Linked DNA regions of Homo sapiens: region 1 is linked to region 2. The links are contacts of gene promoters, found by promoter capture Hi-C in human tissues and cell types (Jung and others, 2019). All regions are on one chromosome and are shown on one strand. The core of a region is centred on a gene start or on the middle of the fragment in contact, and the rest is flanking DNA. Distances in the headings are between cores, read along the strand shown.

Region 1 (7,736 bases), core at 3,788-6,287, 41 kb after region 2:
CAGAGCCCAGAAACAACCAGGAGGCCTGGATTCTGAGTCTGTAGGCCTAATGACCAAGGGGATAGGGAGTTCAGAGAAGTGGAGTAACTGGCCCTTGGCCACACAGCTCATATGTGAAGGAGCTAGGATTTGAATCCAGATGTTGGGCTACAAAGGCCAGGGCTTAACCACTCTGTGGTAAGATAACTTCCAACCCATGGTAGGGAACACAGTGGGAAGAGGGGGAATTGATGGTGTGTCTGAGCAGGGCACCCAGGCAAGCATCAGAGGGGAGGGGACCTTCAGGAGCCCCATGCTTGGTGTCTTTCTCTCCTGTCTGAGTCCTGCCTTTCATTGGCTCTCCCTTGAGAGGAATTTGGACTGGAGGCTTGAAGGGAGGGGAATTCCTTCCTGAGAGCCTAGCCTGACACCTGACCTCCCAGTCTTTGGTGGGGAGGGTACCTTGGGGAGGTGTCTCCTAGGAGGGCGTGGGGAGCTGGGGGCTGGCTCTGCTGGAAGGCAGGAGTACTGGGCACTTTCCCCCTCTGCTCCTCCCCTTAGTCCCACTAATGGATGTTTCCAGGGCTCCTGTCTTCCTCTGGGTCTGTCCTTGCAGTGGTAGTGGAGAGGGGTGAGGGGCCACTCCTTAATATTCACAGAAAATGCATAGAGTACCTACTATCTGCAAGGCATGGGGTAGGGTATGCATGGGGACACAGAGGTGCAAAAGACATGGCTCTGTTCCTTCTGATCTAGTTGTAAGAAAAAGATACAAGGCAGGCAGAGGAGGCAGGAGAAGCCTCATCTCACTGAGCCCCAAGGGTGGGACAAGCCGTGTTTGATGTCCAGGATGACCTAGTGGGGTCCAGGTAGAGTAAACTTTGGCCTTCTTTTCCCCTCTCCCTCTCCCAGCCCCCAGCATGAAGAGGTTATGCAGATGGCCACTCAGAAGGTGAAGGACTGGTCTCTGCAGGGCCAGGCAGTGCAGTGTAGCAATGGTGCGAGAGCCTGGGCTCTGCAGACGATGGAGCCAGGTTCAGATCCTGGCCACATATTAGCTGTATGACCTTGGGCAAGTACTTAACCTCATTTCCTTCTTTGTAAAATGGAATTTCTTCAGCAGTTACTGTGAGAAGCAAATAAGGTGAATGGAAAGAAAGCCCCCTGCACAGTGCCAACACACAGAATGAACACCTAGGAATGTTAGATCCCCAAGGGACGTGTGACTTTGAGGTAAAAATGTGCTGTATGGGCTGGGTGCAGTTGTTCTCGCCCGTAAATCCCAGCACTTTGGGAGGCTGAGGTGAGAGGATCGCTTGAGCCCTGGAGTTTGAGACCAGCCTGGGCAACACAGCAAGACTCCATCTCTACAAAAATTAGAAAAGTTAACTGGGTATGGTGGCATGCGCCTGCAATCCCAGCTACTCTGGAGGCTGAGGTGGGAGAACTGCTTGAGTTCAGGAGTTCGAGGTTACAGTGAGCTGTGATTGCACCATTGCACTCCAGCCTGGGCAACAGAGCAAGACCCTGTCTCTTAAAAAAAGAAAGTGGTGGCTGGGCATGGTGGCTCATGCCTGTAATCCCAGCACTTTGGGAGGCCGAGGTGGGCAGATCACCTGAGGTCAGGAGTTTGAGACCAGCCTGGCCAACATGGTGAAATCCTGTCTCTACTAAAAATACAAAACTTAGCCGGGCGTGGTGGTGCGTGCCTGTAATCCCAGCTACTCAGGAGGCTGAGGCAGGAAAATTGCTTGAACCCAGGAGGAGGAGGTTGCAGTGAGCTGAGATCATGCCACTGCACTCCAGCCTGGGAGACAGAGCAAGACTCCGTCTCAAAAAAAAAAAAAAAAAAAGAAAGAAAGTGGTGTGTGTTCTGAAAGCCCTTGGATGCCTTGGTTCTGGCTCTGGTTTGGGGCTCTGAACAGCAGTTCTGCCCCTGCACCCTGACTCTCCCACCCCTCCAGGCTTGGCAGGCTCCTGCCCTCCAGGGAAGGTATGGCCTTGGGCACTGACGGTGTGTTAGAGCCTCCCAGGTGGTTGTGCAAAGTGCTGCCTCCTTGGGCAGCTGGTCGGCTGTGCTGTTCTTGGCGTCCCAGTACCTGGCCTGGACAGAGCAGGGCTTTGTTTCTACTGGTGGTTATGTAAGAACTGCGCATGATCAGAGAGCTGTGAGTCCACACCTGACAGCTCCGAGGGCTGTAACGGGCAGAGGGGACTGGCTGAAAGCCTCCTGGAAGAGGAGCATGGACACTCTTTACCTGGCAGCTCTGTCGTGGGGACCCCCGGGGGCCCCTGACACGGGACAGGGTGAATGCAAGGAGGGAAACTTGACAGGAACCAAGCCGAGGTGAGGGCTGCACCATGGGGCTGTTGTCAGGGGAGCTCTCTCTCTGTGGCCATTTGACCTGGTTCTGCAGCCTGGGCAGGAGAAGGCTGCTCTCTGATGTAGTGCCCCTTCTTGCTGAGGCCGAACCAGGGCCTAAGCAGCAGGTGGAACACCTGGGCACTGTGCCGGGCATCTGTCCATCTTGGAGCATCCACAGCCTGTCCAGACCTTTCCCCCAGCTGATAAAGGGGACCATTTGTTCAAAAAAATGTGTATTCGTAGTTTGTTGTGAGCAAAGTTCTATATAAATACCTCTTAGATCAAACTTGCTAATTATGTTATCAAATTCTACATTTTTTCACTCTTTTATTGTCTATTTCAATGGTTCTCAAAGTATGGTCAGTGTTCCCCAGGGGGACCCCGAGACTCTTTCCGGAGGGGTATACAGGGTCAAAACTGTACATAATTCAAATGCCCATTCAAGGTACAAGATAGTCCAATGGATTTTAAGGTAATTGGGTAAGAGAAGCTTATTGATATGGTTTCAGATTCTGCATTACATTTAAGAAACTACACATGTCAGGCCAGGCGCGGTGGCTCATGCCTGTATTCCCAGCACTTTGGGAGACCGAGGTGGGTGGGTTGCTTGAGCCCAGGAGTTTTGAGACCAGCCTGGGCAACATGGTGAGACTCTGTTTCTACTAAAAATACAAAAAAATATCCAGGCATGGTGGTGTGTGCCTGTGGTCCCAGCTATTCAGGAGCCTGAGGTGGGAGGATCGACACTTGAGTGGGGGTTGGGGAGTGGGGTTTGTTGAGGGGAGGCAGTGGAGGTTGCAGTGAGCCAAGATCACGCCACTGCACTCCAGCCTGGGTGACAGAGCGACACCCTGTCTCAAGAAAAAAAAAAAGAAAGAAACTACACATGTCAGTCTTTGGGGTAGTATCAAAGAAGCATACTCACAATTAACTGAAAAGGCCATCAAAATACTCCTCCCTTTTCCAACTACATTTATGTGTGAGGCCAAATTTTCTTCATATACTTCAACCAAAACAACATATGGCAACAGACTGAATGCGGAAGCATATATGAGAATCTGCTGGCTTCTGTTAAGCCAGACATTAAAGAGATTTGCAAAAATGTAAAACAATGTCACTCTTCTCACTAAAATTATTTTTTGTTTTGAAAAATACAATTATTTTTCATAAAAATTTATATTAACATATAAACATTTATTATTTTAAAGCATTAATGCATTTAACTTTTTCCTCATTATTAATTCCAAATATGGTGAATAATGATAGGTATAAACCCACGTAAACAAAATCTCTTTGGGATTCTCAATTTTTTTCTTTTTTGAGAAGGAGTCTCGCTCTGTCACCCAGGCTGGAGTGTAGTGGCGCAGTCTCAGCTCACTGCAACCTCTGCCTCCTGGGTTCAAGTGATTCTCCCACTTCAGCCTCCCGAGTAGCTGGGATTACAGGTGCATGCCACCATGTCCGGCTAATTTTTGTATTTTTAGTAGAGACAGGATTTCACCATGTTGGTTGGCCAGGCTGGTCTCAAACTCCTGACCTCAGGTGATCCACCCACCTCAGCCTCCCAAACTGCTGGGATTACAGGTGTGAGCCACCGTGCCCAGCCTGGGGTCTCAATTTTTAAGAGTGCAAGGAGGTTCTGAGACCAAAATGTTTGAGAACTGCTGGGCTACTTAATCTGTGCATTTCTGATAGAGGTGTATGAAATCTATTGTGCATATGGGTTTGGCAATTTTTCCTTTTTTTAAAATCAATTTTTGCTTTATATACCTTAATGCTATGTTGTCAGGTGTATAAAAGCTTCATGATTATTATAGCTTCTGGTTGAATTGTAACTTCTATCTGTATGAAATATCCTTTTTTGTTTCTTTTAATGCCTTAGGCCTTAAGAATAATGATTTCATGAACCAACACTTAAATAGAACCTGCTATGGGCCAGGTATGGATGTGAAAGAGACTTGGTCCTTGTTGGTGTGGAGTACACAGGCACGGGAAGGCAGCGTATGTGGTGCGGCAGGCATAGTCTAGGCTTTGGAGTCAGACTGACCTGTGCTGAATTCTGAGCACTTCCTAGTGGTGTGTCCTTGGGCCTGTGTATGTTGGACCTTGAACCTCAGTTTCTTTATCTGTAAAATAGAGTTAATAGCATCTATGTACTGGTAGTGCTGGTTGCTGAAGGCTTCCTGAGATAATGAGTGACAGCAGCACCCTGCAGAGTGCCCTGTGTAGTAGCTCTGTGGTCAGTGCTGCAGCAGATCCGCCAGCCAGGAGATCTGCCCTGTTTATGCCTCCTGACAAGGCCCCCAGGAGAGGCAGTGTGGGGCAGTGGGGAGTACACCAAGCTGGGATTCAAAAGATCCTGAGTTACACCTTTTTAATTTACTAGCAAAAGTAATTTAATTACCTTTTAATTTACTGAGACCCTGAGTCTCAGTTGCCTCATCTGTGCGGTGGCGGGGACCACATTGCCCTGCATTCTCTGTGGGTTTATCTTGAGGATCCAGTGAGATAATGGAAGGGGCTTGGGATGATGATGGAGGTGGGGCTGAGGAATGGAAGGAGGCCCCCAGGTTCGCTGTTGCCTCCCCTGTCCCGGGCTATGAGGAGGCCTTGCCAGGACAGGCTTGCTTGGGCCCCCAGGAGGGCTGGGATGACTGAAGTGGTAAGACAGGGTCTTGTCATTATTTCAGACTCCTGGAATTGTCTGCCTTTTTTTTTTTTTCCTTTTTGAGATGGAGTTTCGCTATGTTACCAGACTGGAGTGCAGTGACTCGATCTCGGCTCACCGCAACCTCTGCCTCCTGGGTTCAAGCGATCCTCCTGCCTCAGCCTCCTGAGTAGCTGGGACTACAGGCGCGTGCCACCACGCCCAACTAATTTTTGTATTTTTAGTAGAGACGGGGTTTCACCATGTTGGCCAGGATGGTCTTGATCTCTTGACCTCATGATCCGCCCACCTCGGCCTCCCGAAGTGCTGGGATTACAGGTGTGAGCCACCGCGCCCGGCCAGTTGTCTGCCTTTTACAATCCCAGTGCTCCTCTGCTAGGGTGGTGTCTTCATAGCAGCTGCCATTAAGTGCCCATTAAAAAACTGGGGTGAGTGGTCTAATTAATGAAACTATCAGTGCTGGCAGGCACCTACTGTCCCCAGGCATCACCCTCCTGGTCCCCCACCATTTTCTATAAAAGGAAACTAAAAATTGGCCTTCCTGAGCCCGCAGTCTAGAGCTCTTCCTACCATACCTCCAGTTGTTTTACTTTCCTGCATTTTAGCTTTTGTCGGTTGCAAAGTCTGTCCCAGAGGCCCCCAGCTGTGCAGGGCCTCCCTGCTGAGCAGCCTGTGCTCTGGTTGGCAGTTCAGGCAGGCCTGCTCAGCATCGCTGGGTAGGCTGGTTACAGAGGGGCTTGAGCGAGACTTACTGGCAACTGAATCAACTGACGAGGGGGGCCAGCCTCGGTCCTCCCTTCCATGAGCCTAGCCACTGAGAGGCTCTCCGACTTGTCCTGATCTCACATGGCTTGAGGAACAAAAGCAGAGGCGAGGCTTCTCTTGGGCCTGGGGGCTGAGTCCAGCTCAAAGTGTGCCCGTCTGAAGCATGAAGGCAGGTGGGATGGGATGAGCACTGCTGGCATTCTCTAGTTGGGGCTATGGATGGAGAGAAGGCTGAATACTGCTCTCCTCTTCTGCCTGGGTTCCCAGCGCACCTGGAGTCCCTGGGCTGTGGCCAGTTGGCAACACTGGTTAGAAGCACATTGGAGAGGCTGTCTAATGTTTTGGTTAAGAGCGTGAACTCTGGGGCCAGACTGGGTTCTGATTTTAGCAATGCCACATGACCTTGGGCAAGTTATTTAACCTCTTTGTGCTCCAGTTTCCTCATCTGTAAAATGGGGATATTAATAACAATAATTTCTTAGAGAATTGTTGAGGTTAGAGTTAATTTTAAAAATTGTTTAGGACAGTGAACAGTAAGCACTGTATAATTGTTAGTTAATATTATTGAATGTGGGCATGACAGTGGTCTTTAGAGACCATCGCCAAATCCTGTAGCTCTTCACTCCCAGTTTCTCTGATATCCCCCAGCATTCTCCCTCCTTTTGCTCTCCGCACATCCTCCCTGCTCCCTCTGCAGTCTCAGTTTTCCACTCTGCAAGAGCCAACAAGATCATTTCAAACTGCAAACCTGATGGTCTCACCCTTCAGCTCAAGCCCCTCAGTGGCTCTTACTGTTCTTCGGGTAAAGTTCTTACCCAGGCTCTGGGTAAAGCTCTTACCCAAGGCCAGGTCCCCTTGCTGGGCACTGTCTGGAAGCGTGAAGCTCCCTTTGCATATATAATGACACTGGTCATTATATAACTGTGTTTATTTTATCAACGTCCTGGCTTCTCACTGGACTGAGAGATCCACAAGGGTATGCCCTCATCTTGTTCATCTCAGTTGCTCCCAGACCCCTGTCAATCACATAATGGGTGCTCCATAAATGTGTGGTGAATGAATGACTGAACGGATGGATGAATAGTTGGTGGGAGGAAGTAGTAGAAGGAAGGAATCTTTGGAGCCAGATGGGCTCAGGCGGGAGCCCAGAACCTTTTTCAGGACCTGTTGGAGTTCTTGAGAGGCCCAAGGAAGATCAGGAAAATTCTAGCAGGGAGCTGGTGAGGACCGAGTGGAGTGGAGTGATACGTCAGTTGCGGTGCTTGCTGCCGACTGGGGAGTGATGGACATGCTCCCTAAGTGTGGGTCGACCTCTCTTTCTCCTTCCTTTCATGAATACTTGTTTAGGGCCTCCTAGGTGCTTGGTATTATGTTCCCTGCTCTCCCGTATATTATTTCATTTCATCATCCGGATAGTACTGTGAGGGAGGCATTATTATCCCCATGTTATATGAGAAAATTGAGGTTCAGAGAGGGTCAGCAACTTGCCCAGAGTCACACAGCCAAGAAGCAGCAGAGTCAGGACTTGAACCCAGGACTTCCTCCTGTGGATATGAGAAGTGACTGGGGGTAATGCCACTCTGTTGAACACTGACCCAAACTGGCATGCTGGGGAAGGCAGCCCTAGGGGAGCAGACCCTTCCATGATAATCAAGTCACCGAGGTTGCAGCAGGTTTGACCCAGTTGGCTGGGTTGTTGCCTTTAGGGAGCTCACAGTCTAGAGGTAGAGGGGGAGCCAGCTGATATACAAATACGCAAATAGCTTATCATTGCAACTAGGGTGACTTCCTGGGAGATGGGTGGAGAGGCGCCCCAGGGCCTGCTCTTTGTGGGAGCTGGAAAGAGCACCAGATGCAGAGTGAGAGCTGCCTATGCCTATTAGGCTTTGCCTCTACCACTTCTGGGCTGTGGGAACTCAGGCACATGAATCCCTGTGCCTCAGTTTCCTCATCTGCAAA
Region 2 (6,864 bases), core at 4,358-6,857:
TATTGGAGAGTGCCAGCATCACCTTGTCAGCTGTGTGAGGAAGCCACCCTGGGAGCCGATCCTCCAGCCCCACTAAGCCTTCAGATGATTGCAGCCTTGACCAACATGTGACTGCAACCTTATGAAAGCGCCTGAGCCAAAACCATCACCAAGCTGCTCTTGATTTTCTGACTAAAAACACCCAGAACCCAAAAAACTGTGAGATAATACATGCTTATTGTTGTTTTAAGTAATTAAGTTTTGAAATACTTCATTACACAGCAAGAGATAACTAATGCAGCTAGAAGCATGAAAATATCTGGCATAGTGTGGAAATGGCGAGAAATGCATTGAGGCTGGCACGAGAGGTTAAAGCCAGAAACTTGGAGTTGAAAGAGATGCTTCTGAAATGCCATGTTTCTCCATAAGAGTGGGCAAGGGAGCCATCTGGTGGAGGAGGCATGCTTAGACATTCCCTTCTCTCTTCCCTGATTTCTCCAGCCTGTTCTCCTCAGCATTTCCACCTAGTATTTCTCCAAGGGCCACAGTGAGGTTTATGAGTCAAGTATGTGGGCCATAAACACACTTGCTTATTGAAGCAAATACTAACCTCTGCAAAATGTCAAGGTAAGATATTATCTTCAGTGATTATTTAATTTTCTCCCTTAGTCTCTTCTACCTGTCTGCTACCAAGGGGAAAACATCAGCAGCACCAGGAGTTGAGGCAGAATGCTGCAGGAGGGAAAGAAGGAACTAGAACTTGATTATGGAAAAATCAGAATTAGACTCGAGAGAGCACAGTCAAGCTGGTCCGTCTCTTAATTATAAGGGGAGGCCTTTATTCATCGCTACAGGCCACGACTATTGTCCCTTTCTGGTTTTTAAAGCCTTCTTGTATCCTCCAATGTTCCCTCCAGATAATGTCTAGAAATTCTTGAATAATATCTCTCAATTCTATAGCTGCTGGAAGAGAAAACAAATACTATTACTCTCCACTGTCAGACTGAGGCCAAGGAGGAGGAATTGCAAAGAAACTAAAATTTACCTTTGGAGTAAATTACCAGTGTGAGAATTTCAGGCACTTAGGATATATATATTATTATTATTTTTTCGAGACAGAGTCTTGCTCTGTCGCCCAGGCTGGAGTGCAGTGGCACGATCTCCGCTCACTGCAACCCCCGCCTCCTGGGTTCAAGCAATTCTTCTGTCTCAGCCTCCTAAGTAGCTGGAATTACAGGCACGCGCCACCACACCCGGCTAATTTTTATATTTATTTATTTATTTATTTTGAGACGGAGTCTAGCTCTGTCGCCCAGGCTGGAGTGCAGTGGCATGATCTCGGCTCACTGCAATCTCCGCCTCCTGGGTTCACACCATTCTCCTGTTTCAGCCTCCCCACTAGCTGGGACTACAGACGCCCACCACCATGCCCGGCTAATTTTTTTGTATTTTTAGTAGAGCCCAGGTTTCACCGTGTTAGCCAGAATGGTCTCGATCTCTTGACCTTATGATCTGCCCACCTTGGCCTCCCAAAGTGCTGGGATTACAGGCGTGAGCCACCGCGCCCGGCCTGATTTTTATATTTTTAGTAGAGACGGGGTTTCACCTTGTTGGCCAGGCTGGTCTCAAACTCTTGACCTCAGGTGATCTGCCCGCCTCAGCCTCTCAAAGTGCTGGGATTACACGTGTGAGCCACTGTGCCTGACCGGTACTTAGGTTATTAAAGAAAAAAATTTATTTTTCTTAAGAAGGGTGGGGACTCCTTAGCTTAAATACTACATTGTTGAACACAAAACTTTCCCCATCCTCTCACTTAGATTAAGTCTGCCTCTTCTCTCTGCTCCTACGGTTACAGTAGAATCCCCTGCTTTATATCATGGCTCAGTCAAGTCAGCGTCTTCTGTTGAACTAAGAGTTCATAGAGGGTAGAATTTCTGTCCAGTTCATTCTTGCTGGTTTCACAGTCATTGTTTTAAGAAATGATTCATGACCAGCCTGGGCAACATAGCAACACCTCATTCTACAAAAAAAAAAAAAAAAAAAAAATTGGCCAGGCACGGTAGCTCACACCTGTAATCCCAGCACTTTGGGAGGCTGAGGCAGGCAGATCACGAGCTCAAGAGATCGAGACCATCCTGGCCAACATGGTGAAACCCCGTCTCTACTAAAAATACAAAAATTAGCTGGGCGTGGTGGTGTGCACCTGTAGTCCCAGCTACTCGGGAGGCTGAGGCAGGAGAATCGCTTGAATCCGGGAGGCGGAGCTTGCAGTGAGCCAAGATCGTGCCACTGCACTCCAGCCTGATGACAGAGTGAGACTCCGTTTCAAAAAAAAATAAAAATAAAAATTAAGTAGCTAGGTGTTAGTGGTGTGCACCTGTAGTCCCAGCTCCTCTGGAGGCTGAGGCAGGAGGATTGTTTGAGCCCAGGAATTAGAGTGAGCTATGATTGCACCATTGCACTGCAGCCTGGGCAGCAGCAGAAGACCCTATCTCAAAAATAAAATAAAATTACATTAAAAAAGGAAAGAAAGATAAGAAAAAGAAAAAAGAAATGGGCATTGTTCTGGGGCTTTTGTTGAAAGAGATGTGAATTCTGTGCTCCAAGAGGAAACTGACACGCATGCGCTCATTCAAGGAACATTTGTTGGTACCTCCTTTGTGCTAGATGCTGGACACAGAAATTATAGGCAGTTCCCTCAGGACTCTCACTGTCTAGAGAGAGGAGGAGGCACCAAGTGCTGGGGTGGGGCAGGCCCACGGAGCCAAGTCAGAAGGGCACGTAATCCAGACAGTGGCTGCTGATGGGGAAGGTGTCAGAGAAGTCTTTCTTCAGGGGTGAGATCTGAGCTGAATTTTGGAGGAAGAATAAGAGCTGGCCAACTAAAGAATATGGGGCGCAGTGGCTCACGTCTGTAATCCCAGCGCTTTGGGAGGTCGAGGCAGGTGGATCACCTGAGGTAAGGAGTTTGAGACCAGTCTAGCCAACATGGTGAAACCCCATCTCTACTAAATACAAAAAATTAGCCAGGCATGGTGGTGCATGCCTGTAATTCCAGCTACTTAGGAGGCTGAGGCGGAAGAATCGCTTGAACCTGGGAGGCAAAAGTTGCAGTGAGCCAAGATTTCTCCATTGCACTCCAGCCTGCGCAACAAGAGCAAAACTCTATCTCAAAAAAAAAAAAAAAAAAAAGGTGAGAGTAGTCTGTAGAAAGGTACAGTAATGGGAGAAGGTGTGACATATCCGAGAACTGCCAGAGTTGAATACACCAGGCTTTGGTTTTATCCTGGAGGTCACAGGGGGCCACTGAAACTATCCACCAAGAGAGTGGTCTGAGAAAGGTACAGAGGGGTGGACAGGGTGGGGGATGGGAGTGGGTGGGGAGTGGCGATGGCCTATCCTGGAATTCAGACCTGAGGCCAGGTTAGGAAACGAAGAAGAGGGGCCTTCAGAGGCTATCTGCATGACAGACCCAGGAGCTTTCGGGGAAAAGACCCATCCTAAGGGAGGAGAGGCAGAGTCCAGCAGATGGGCCTGGACCACCACAAAGCTCAGTCCATTTCTCTAAGGGGTGGTGAGTGGATTTCTGTATATGGCTTAGTGATATGTGTGGGAATTGGATCTTTCTACATTTTGGCCTTTCGTGGATTCTTGTCTGATTTTTGGGCTAGGGGTGGTGGTGGTAGGGCTTTGAGTAAAAATAAAAATCACAATGATTGCTAACGATTTTTGAACACTTATAACATGTCAGGAATTTACATACTTTAGCTCATTTAATTCTCATCACAGCCCCACACTGAGGGTACCACTATGGTTATCCCCATTTTACAGCTGGAAAAACCAACCAAGCAATTCATCTGAGGAGAAGCCCTCCTACCTTACTTATGTTGGGACTGGCGCATGCCGGGTAATTGACAAAGTCAACTAAAGCAGGGAGCTTTGAGAAAAATACCTACACAGGGTAAGCATTTACTTTTGGGACAATCGTCAATTTATACATAGTTATAAGAACTAACACAGGGTGATCCCACAGACTACCCCCCAATGGTAACATCTTGCAACCCTTCTTAACAGAATGCCTACTATGTGCCAGGTACTGCTTTAGGTGCTGGAGACATAGACACGGGAAACGAAACATTAGCTGACAGAAGCCACAAGAGTGAATGAGATCCTCACGGAGTGCCTTGAGTCAGAAGAAAGAAGGGTAGCAAAAGGAGCCCCAGCATTTGAGGGGTAGGAAGAAAAGCCCTAAGGAGACCTTGAAGGTCGGAAAGAGAGGAGAGGGTGGTGTCATGGAAGCTAAGGTGGACAATGGTGCCAAAAAGGAAAGAGATTCCAGTGCTTCTGAGGTCATCTGCAAGGAGGACTGGGAAGTGTCCATTGGATTTAGCAGCCAGGATGTCACAGGTGAGCAGGCAGGTAGCCCAGAAATATGGAGGGGAGCAGGACCACAGTGCAGTGAGGAGTGAATTGGGCGAGGAAGCAGCGGTAGAGAGCACTTCACAGTGAGTCTTCCAACTCATGTAGGAAAGAGGGGGTAAAGTTAGGCTAAAGGAGAAATTTTCCATGAATTTTGTCTCTAGAATGATGATTAAGAGTTAGCGAGAGTCAAGATTTCAGGCCTGTTAGAGCAAAGCCCTAAGGAAATAAGAGTTGGACCCTGGAGCACAGCTAAGTCCTGGCTGGAGGGATGGGCCTGTCTTTCTGAAAGGAGATAATGGAGGAAGAGATGCAGTTAAAGCTCTGTGGCTACTTGAAGAGGGAAGTGATTACTTCCAGCTGGGGCACTCAAGGAAGGGATACAGACATTTGAGTGCCAGGGGCATTTGAGGGTAACAGTGGAGGGGTTCAGTTGGCCAAAGTTAAAGGCAGCTGAAAGATGGCAGGAGACAAGACCAGGAAATGCAGACCAAGGTGGGTGGTGGTATGGTTGGGGCGTTGGGGTCAGATGACACATAAGCTTCAAATTCCAGCTCCCATTTGCTTCTTAGCTGTGACTCTAAAGAAGTTCCTTAACACGTCTGAGATTCCCCATCTGTAAAATGGCGACAACCCTAATAGGGTCGTTGGAGGAGAACTAGATAATGTCTAAAAAGAGCTCAGTCCGGTTCAGTGCTTGGCTCCTCTGTACCTGAGCGCTAAGTCACTAATATAAAGCCATCGGATGTGTGCTTTAAGGGAAATTAACTGGGCCACACGGTGTGAAGTGAACTGAGCTGGGAGAGGCCTGCACAGGACCTTGTACACACTAGCTACTCCGGAAACAACTGCATGCTCTGCTGGGCATCTCATACAGGATACGGTGTCTTTCCGGGGCTCACACACAGTCCCCAGTTCAGTTCCAAAGTTGGAAGGAAAGAGGATGAAGACGTAAATTCTTCATTTAAGCCTCTCGCCAACTGTTCCCTGCGGCAAGGCAGGGCAACGAGCTGCAGGGTCGCCAAGCACGTGCTTCCAAGGGTCCTCAAGGCTTTGTGAACGGCGGCCGGCCAAGGACAGAATTAACTCCAGCCTGGAGCGCGCGGGAAAGACGCGCAGGCGCACTGCTGGCAAGGGTGCTTGCCTGTGCTGGGGTGGGCGGAGCTAAACCCGGAGCGGGATGACGTCATGAGGACGCAGCCGCAGAGCGATTCGCGTCCCGGAAGCGGCGGTGGCGGCCGCGGCGTAGGCGGAGGAGATTTTCGGACCTGCGACTTCCGAACAACCCTGGCAGGAGGAGCGGCGTTCAGCCGGGGGAGGCCTGAAGAAACGCTCCGGGGCCCAGTGGCTCTACCCCTGCTCCTGCCCGACCCTGCCGCCTCCCTCACGGAGCCAGCGGCCGGGTAGGTGAGGTGCCGTCCCCCCGCGTCCCAGTGTCTCCGCAGGCTGTGTGTAGTTGGGTGCTTGGGCGCAGCGGGGGCCGCCACATGCTGGCCCCACGACCTCGGGCATGGCCTTCCCTGTCCAGCCTCACGGGCTCCATCAGGCCCCCCTGGCTGCAGAGGTGTTGGCCAAGGCCAGTGCGGGCGTCGATATACCTCGCCCCTTCCTGGGCTCATACCTGGCGCCGCTCTGTGCCCTTTCGCCTTGGCTCGGCCTGCGGGGATTTCGGGGTCCCGTTGGCCCCTTTGTCCCATCCCCTCACCCTCCCATCAGGTCGCGGCTGATTGCCTGGGACTGGTTTATGTTGCTCTTCGCCGAGGTTCCGCCCCCTCGTTTGCTGCTTAGAGTTCAGGATAGGACTTTGAACTGGGAAAGACCGTAAAGGCTCCTCGGTTTCCTCATCAGAAAGGGCAGACGGGAATGGGGCGTTCTGATGCCGACTGCCCTGGGGCAGAGATGGCCCAGGAAGTTGTTGGGAACCGAAGGGAGTGGGAAGAGTTAGAGGATCGGGCGAGAGTCCTGGAGCACGGTATTTCATTCACTCATTCAGCAGGCATTTGTTAAGCACCCACTGTGTACAGAAGCAGTCGTGAATGGAGGCCAGTTAAGAGCAGGGAGTTTTACTTTGACGTGGTCAGTGCTCTGCACTTGATCTTAGCCACAAGGCCAAGAAGCGATGTGATGTGATAAGTGCTCTGTTAGGGTGAGTACGTGATCCTTTGGGAGCATCGGAGAGGGTCTCCCAGTCCAGAGTTGGGGGTGTTGGCAGAGACTTCCCAGAGTAAGGGAGTGATGTTTAAGCTGATACCTGAAGGATGAGTAGGAATTAACCAGGTAAAGAGTGGGAGAAAAATGTTCCAGGACATCATTTCATTTCAGCCCATGGGCTGCCTCGCTGCAGCGATCATTTATGCTTGGTTTTTATGATTTTTAGTTTTGATGGATCTTTGGGGAAAAGAGCATTGGATGGAGAGTACAAAGAACAGGATTTTAGGTCTGAATAGTTCACTTTCCCTTGCTCAC

The links. The method cuts DNA at HindIII sites, captures the fragments that hold promoters and counts their contacts. A contact is called where the count stands out against the background at its distance.
Region 1: a fragment that was not itself captured here is called in contact with the fragment with the promoter of ZFYVE27 in region 2 in 1 of the 25 tissues and cell types used here (adrenal gland).

What each region holds. Positions count from the first base shown.
Region 1 is chr10:97,772,886-97,780,621 of GRCh38, forward strand. No RefSeq gene overlaps it. Among named protein-coding and RNA genes, the nearest start is that of SFRP5, 4.8 kb to the left of the region's middle. RefSeq lists an enhancer at 1,947-2,241. The HindIII fragment of the contact is 7,465 bases long and covers 1,306-7,736 here.
Region 2 is chr10:97,731,521-97,738,384 of GRCh38, forward strand. It overlaps ZFYVE27 (zinc finger FYVE-type containing 27), which reads left to right and starts at 5,608. Exons shown (of 13, transcript NM_001385875.1): 1 at 5,608-5,801. RefSeq lists silencers at 292-586, 5,804-5,873 and an enhancer at 5,324-5,473. The HindIII fragment of the contact is 10,455 bases long and covers 1,638-6,864 here.